Linked DNA regions of Homo sapiens: region 2 is linked to region 1. The links are contacts of gene promoters, found by promoter capture Hi-C in human tissues and cell types (Jung and others, 2019). All regions are on one chromosome and are shown on one strand. Each heading gives the region's core, a stretch centred on a gene start or on the middle of the fragment in contact. The rest is flanking DNA. Distances are from core to core; before and after follow the strand shown. Region 1 holds the start of PFN3 (profilin 3). Region 2 holds the start of LOC124901145 (a long non-coding RNA gene).

Region 1 (3,304 bases), core at 501-3,000:
CACCATCTCCCCTCAAAGACTGGCTGCAAGAGCAGCCTGCCCTGCCCAGGCCAGGTGCAGTTCCAGAGAAGCCAGCCCTGCAGGCTCACCCCAACCATCTGCCTGGCCCTACCTTAGTGAGTCCAAACCACAATTCAAACTCCCTGGAAGCCCCTCCTAGGCCTGGGGCCACCCCCAAGGCAAGTGTAAGGAGGATTCTGCACCCCCACCCCCTGACCCCCACCTGGCTGAACTTCCTCTGGTCTCCCTCTGCCCTCTAAATTCACCCACCTCAGCCACACATCACTCCTTCCTGCTGGGATAAGATCAGGGCTCCAGAATAAGTGACAGGTGGGGTCTGCCATCAGGGCCGCTGGGGGAGGGGACGGGAAGGGTGGGGGTGGGCAAGAGAGGCCATGCCCTGGGCCCCAGCACATGGAGGGCAGGGACCAGACACCCTCCCTCCCACTTTTGTCCACTATCTTTGGGCAATAAACCAGGCCTCAAACTTACCCAAGCTTTTCAATTCCCCCTCCTCCATAGGTCACCCTGAAACTGAGGCCTGCAGAGTGAGACTCCCGGGTAGGGATGCCAGAGTTCCTCCCTCTAGTCCAGGGACTCCTGCGGGGCCTTTTCGAAGGCCTGGGGAAGGCAGGATGTAAGGTCTCAAACCCAATTGCGATGGTCTTGGACATGAGCCCTCTCAGTAGGCTCCCCTTGGAGGAATGTGGGCAGAGATGCAGAGGCCTGTGAGCCCCAGAACTGCTTTACAAGCCACCAAGCCCATCCTGTCACCCACTCACAACTTGCTAGTGCTTGAGGTATGAGTGGAGGGGGGAGGAGCAAATTGGCCTCCAGCCTGACACCCTGATGGGGAGAGGTGTTCGCGGGATGGGGAGGGGGCTCCCTTTACTTGTCCTGCCTAATGTGTGGGAATATCTCTGAGAAAGGACGCTAAGGCTGAAACAGACTTTGAGAAGCCCCCACCCTTGGACTCTTCCTCAGCTGCGGAGTCCCTAGGACCCTGGGAACGCGCCAAGGAGCAGCAGTCAGGCCAGGAGCCTCTGCAAGGCGTCCATGGGAGAGCAGGGTGTAGGGCACAGGGGCCTGGCAGCCTCTAGACTCAAAATCCCGGCTCCACCAGGTAACCGTCTTGCAAAGACCAGTTTCCTTATTTACAACTCCCCCCACCGCGCAAGTGGAGGAGGAGCCAGCCGCGCCCAGGTCACAGTTTATTTGGCCCGCGCTACCAGTGGGCGGCCTGGCTGGCCGGCTAGGCGCCCTGCATGCGCAGCCCGCGTATGAGTTCGTGCACCGTCTTGTTGAGGATGCCCCCATGTACGCCGCGTCGGCCCATTAGCACCAGGAGCGCGCGCGGCGCACGGCCCACGCACACGGCGCGCGCGTCCAGCCCCTTGGTGCGTGCGTCCAGCACGCCGTCACCCTCGGCCAGCAGGTGGTCGCGGATGACGCAGCAGCGGCGGCCCCCCACGCTCAGGCCCGCCTGCAGGAAGGTGTGCCTGTCCGGCCCCGTGAGCACGCCCACCTCCTGCGGCGAGATGGCCGCCAGCAGGCCCCCGGGCCGCGAAGCCCACACGCAGCTGTTGTCCGCATGGCCCACGATGGCCACGTCGTCGATGCGCTGGTCCCGCAGCACTGCACTGATGTAGACCTTCCAGTCGCCCATCGCGCTCCGAGTGCGCCCAGCCGCCTCGCACCTCTCGGGGAAATATAGAGGCGCCACGCGGGGAAGGCCTGCGGCGCTGTGAGGCAGGCTGGGCGGGGCTGTGACGTCACACAAGGCGCCGTCCCGGAGCGACCACCCAGGCTGGGGCACGTGGGGCGTGGGCGTTTAGTGCTGTCGCAGTTCTAAGGTTATCCTGTAGGATGGGTTTGGCAGAGCGCAGCGGCTCACTCCTGTAATCCCAGCGCTTTGGGAGGCCGAGGCGGGCGGATCGCTTGAACTCAGTAGCGAGATTATAGTAAACTATTATAGGATCGTGTCGCTGCACGCCAGCCTGAGCCACAGAGCGAGGCCCCGTCTCTAAAAAAGCAAAAACAAATTTTAATTAAAAAAAATTTTTTTGAGATGAGGTCTCACTATGTTGCCCAGGCGGGTCAGGAAGTCTTGAGCTCAAACAATCCTCCCGCCTCAGCCTCTCAAAGTGACGAGATTACAGGCGTGAACCACCGCATCTGGCCAATCTATTTTTAATTTTAAAAAGCTGGTTTTGTGAAAAAAGGATGTTGTGTCTGGACAGCCAGACCTTCACTTGTAAGGGAACCAACCATTCAACCCCCAGATTGTGGTTCTTAAGCATGAGAGAACATCAGAATCCCCCGCAAGGCTGTTAAACAGATTGCTGGGCCCCACCCCAGACTTTCTGTTCAGCAGTATAAAGTGTAGCCCGAGAATTTGTTATGTGTAACAAGTTCCCTGGTGATGGTACTGCTAGCCAAGGGACTCTCAGACCCACTACACTAGTGCGTGTTGGGGTGGGGACAACGATATGTCACCCAGCCCTTAGGGTCCACGCCACAGTCAATGCTCTTTTTTTCTATTTTCTTTTTTCTTTTCTTTCTGTCTCTCTCTTTCCCTCCCTCTGTTCCTTCCTTCCTTCCTTCCTGCCGGTTCAAGTGATTCTCCTGCCTCAGCCTCCTGAGTAGCTGGGACTACAGGCGCACGCCGCCGTGCCCGGCTAATTTCTTGTATTTTAGTAGAGACGGGGTTTCATCGTGTTGCCCAGGCTGGTTTCGAACTCCTGAGCAATCCACCTGCCTTGGCCTCTTAAAGTGCTAGGATTACAGGCGTGAGCCACCGCGCCCGGCCAATGCTAAGTATTTCTAACCACGATTCTCAACCTTGGCTGTACATGGAATTATCTGGGGAGTTTTACAAATATACCACTACCCATGCCCCATCCCTAGACATACTGATTTAATTGGTCTGAGGTGGAACTTGGGCATAGATTGGCTCAAAACGCTCCCCAAGTGATCTTAATGTATGGTCTGAGAACTACTGCTCTGTAAACAAAATGTTAGTTTCTCATAAGGAATAACATGCAGCTTCTCCTTGCACAGGGCTTGGTATACAGTATCCTAGGCTCAGTAAACATTAGCTGGGCTGGCATCTAGATTTTGCACGTTAAGATCTCATAGACCTTGTTCTCTGAGAGCTGTGGAGAAGCTGTGAATCGCTTTTCTGTCTTGGCATTTCCCGGCGGGACCCATGAAGAAAAGAGCTTTCCTTCTCAGCATTTTCAAAGCACTTTATTGAGTTCCTGCGCCATCCTGGCGCGGAGCTGGCCGCACTGGGGGAATGGGA
Region 2 (3,304 bases), core at 521-3,020, 420 kb before region 1:
AAGGAAGGTGGAGTGAGCTGAGCTAACACCACTGCACTCCAGCCTAGGTGACAGAGGGAGACCCTGGCTCTAGAAAAAAAAAATATATAGGAGAAAGAGAAGAAAATCTGAAGGAAAAAACAATGACTTAATTCACTGCCTTTGAGATGAGACCTGCAGGCAGGCAGAAAACTCCAATAAACAAATAGAAATACAGGATAAAGGAAAAAGGTTACAATCTTTATTCCGGAGAATAAAGCTTTCTAAAATGATAAAAATGTTGTATAGCTCTGCTGTCTAATACAACTGACACTAGCCTTATGTGTCTTTAATCACTTGAAATGTGACTAGTGCAACAGAGAAGCTGATTTTTAATTTTAGTTATTTTTAAACAGCTACAGATGGCTAGGTGCTATTATATGTAGAACATATCAAGAGACTTAAGAACATTCACGTGTTTTTCCTCTCACTTTCTAGACACATGAAAACTAAGATTTACAATTGATTTAGATGATTCAAATAGTTCCAAAATGCCACTTTGGATTACTATATTATAAAACTGAAGAACTATGATCCATCCTCAACCAAGCAACAGGATTACTACCTTAAGTAATTCTTCATTCCATTTACAAATTAAAACAAAGCTGAGTAAAAATTTCATGGTTTTGGTGAGCTGGCATTAAGGTGAAGTCAGTCACGAAACAAACTCCCCATGGGTAAAGAAGCATAGTTTGAGAGCTACAGCTCTACTTTTCAGCTCTACTTCACTAACCTCTCCATCACTATCGGATATCACAATGAATGCATCCTCAAGTCTACGCTTCCTCTTCACACTGACAGAACTGGTAGTTTCCACATCCTTCTTCTCCAGGTTCCGAGATTCGGAGACTTCTTTAACTTTTTTCTTTCTCCGTGGCATCCTTTTGTCTAGAATAAAAGGACAATAATTTTGTCTAGAATAAAAAGATCATAATTTACTTAAAGTATAAGTTTTCTAGAAGCTATTCAACTTAGTCTTTTTTTGAGATGGTCTCGCTTTGTTGCCCAGGCTGGAGTGCAATGGCACGATCTTGGCTCACTGCAACCGCTGCCTCCCAGGTTCAAGCAATCCTCCTGCCTCAGCCTCCCGAGTAGCTGGGACCACAGGCACACGCCACCACACTGGCTAATTTTTGCATTTTTAGTACAGACAGAGTTTCACCATGTTGGCCAGGCTGGTCTCAAACTCCTCACTTCAGGTGATCCACCCGTGTCAGCCTCCCATAGTGCTGAGATTACAGACATGAGCCACCACATCCAGCCTAATTTTTGTATTTTTGTAGAGACTGGGTTTCACCATGTTGGCCAGGCTGGTATTGAACTCCTGACCTCAGGTCATCTGCCCGCCTTGGCCTCCCAAAGTGTTGGGGTTACAGGAGTGAGCCACCATGCCCAGCCTCAATTTAATCTTGTAAAAGAAAAAGATAACCCTATCTAACAGAAGCAAAACTGCATTTCTTAACTTGTCTACTACTCATTAAAAATATAGCCCTCTCCCTCTCCCCCTCCCCCTCCTCCTCTCCCTCCTTTCTTCAGTCTCCCTCTGTTGCTGATACTGCCACGATCTTGGCTCGCTGCAACCTCCCTGCCTCAGGCTCCCGTGATTCTCCTGCCTCGGCCTGCCAAGTGCCTGGGATTCCAGGCACGCACCGCCACTCCTGACTGGTTTTTGTATTTTTGGTGGAGACCGGGTTTCGCCATGTTGACCGGGCTGGTCTCCAGCTCCTGGCCTCGGGTGATCTGCCCGCCTCGGCCTCCCGAGGTGCTGGGATTGCAGACGGAGTCTCGCTCACTCAATGCTCAATGTTGCCCAGGCTGGAGTGCAGTGGCATGATCTCGGCTCGCTACAACCTCCACCTCCCAGCCGCCTGCCTTGGCCTCCCAAAGTGCTAAGATTACAGCCTCTGCCCGCCCGCCACCCCATCTAAGAAGTGAGCAGTGTCTCTGCCTGGCTGCCCATCGTCTAGGATGTGAGGAGCCCCTCTGCCCGGCCACCCCGTCTGGGAAGTCAGGAGCGCCTCTACCCGGCCGCCACCCCGTCTAGGAAGTGAGGAGCCCCTGCCTGGCCGCCCATCGTCTTGGATGTGAGGAGCGCCTCTGCCCGGCTGCCCCGTCTGGGAGGAAGTGAGGAGTGCCTCTGCCCGGCCGCCACCCCATCTGGGATGTGAGGAGCACCTCTGCCCGGCCACCCCATCTGGGAAGTGAGGAGTGCCTCTGCCCAGCCGCCCCGTCTGGGAGGAAGTGAGGAGCGCCTCTGCCCGGCCGCCCCGTCTGGGAAGTGAGGAGCGCCTCTGCCCGGCCGCCCCGTCTGGGAAGTGAGGAGTGCCTCTGCCCGGCCGCCCCGTCTGGGAAGTGAGGAGTGCCTCTGCCCGGCCGCCCTGTCTGGAAAGTGAGGAGTGCCTCTGCCCGGCCGCCCTGTCTGGGAAGTGAGGAGCGCCTCTGCCCGGCCGCCCCGAATGGGAAGTGAGGAGCGCCTCTGCCCGGCCGCCCCATCTGGAAAGTGAGGAGTGCCTCTGCCCGGCCGGCCCATCTGGGATGTGAGGAGCGCCTCTGCCGGCCGCCACCCCGTCTGGGAAATGGGGAGTGCCTCTGCCCGGCCGCCCCGTCTGGGAAGTGAGGAGTGCCTCTGCCCGGCCTCCCCGTCTGGGAAGTGAGGAGTGCCTCTGCCCGGCCGCCACCCCGTCTGGGAAGTGGGGAGCGCCTCTGCCCGGCTGCCTATCGTCTGGGATGTGAGGAGCGCCTCTGCCTGGCCGCCCCATCTAGGAGTGAGGAGTGCCTCTGCCTGGCCGCCCCATCTAGGAGTGAGGAGTGCCTCTGCCCGGCCGCCCCATCTGGGAGGTGTACCCAACAGCTCCGAAGAGACAGCGACCAACGAGAACAGGCCATGATGACGATGGCGGTTTTGTCAAAAAGAAAAGGGGGAAATGTGGGGAAAAGAAAGAGAGATCAGGTTGTTACTGTGCCTGTGTAGAAAGAAGTAGACATAGGAGACTCCATTTTGTTCTGTACTAAGAAAAATTCTTCTGCCTTGGGATGCTGTTAATCTATAACCTTACCCCCAACCCCGTGCTCTCTGAAACATGTGCTGTGTCAACTCAGGGTTAAATGGATTAAGGGCAGTGCAAGATGTGCTTTGTTAAAAAGATGCTTGAAGGCAGCATGCTTGTTAAGAGTCATCACCACTCCCTAATCTCAAGTACCCAGGGACACAAACACTGCGGAAGGCCACAGGGACCTCTGCCTAGGAAAACCAGAGACCTTTGTTCATGTGTTTATCTGCTGACCT

The links. Contacts are between HindIII fragments. The study calls those that stand out against the background at their distance.
Region 2: a fragment that was not itself captured here is called in contact with the fragment with the promoter of PFN3 in region 1 in 1 of the 25 tissues and cell types used here (dorsolateral prefrontal cortex).

Annotation. Positions count from the first base shown.
Region 1 is chr5:177,398,911-177,402,214 of GRCh38, forward strand. PFN3 (profilin 3) reads right to left here and starts at 1,751. Exons shown (of 1, transcript NM_001029886.3): 1 at 1,199-1,751. The coding sequence starts at 1,666. The coding sequence ends at 1,253. It overlaps F12 (coagulation factor XII), which reads right to left. Exons shown (of 14, transcript NM_000505.4): 14 at 3,231-3,304. RefSeq lists an enhancer at 3,060-3,304. The HindIII fragment of the contact is 7,517 bases long and covers 43-3,304 here.
Region 2 is chr5:176,981,718-176,985,021 of GRCh38, forward strand. It overlaps UIMC1 (ubiquitin interaction motif containing 1), which reads right to left. Exons shown (of 15, transcript NM_001199298.2): 2 at 752-906. The coding sequence starts at 898. LOC124901145 (a long non-coding RNA gene) reads right to left here and starts at 745. Exons shown (of 2, transcript XR_007059073.1): 1 at 1-745. RefSeq lists a silencer at 3,038-3,238. The HindIII fragment of the contact is 7,476 bases long and covers 1-3,304 here.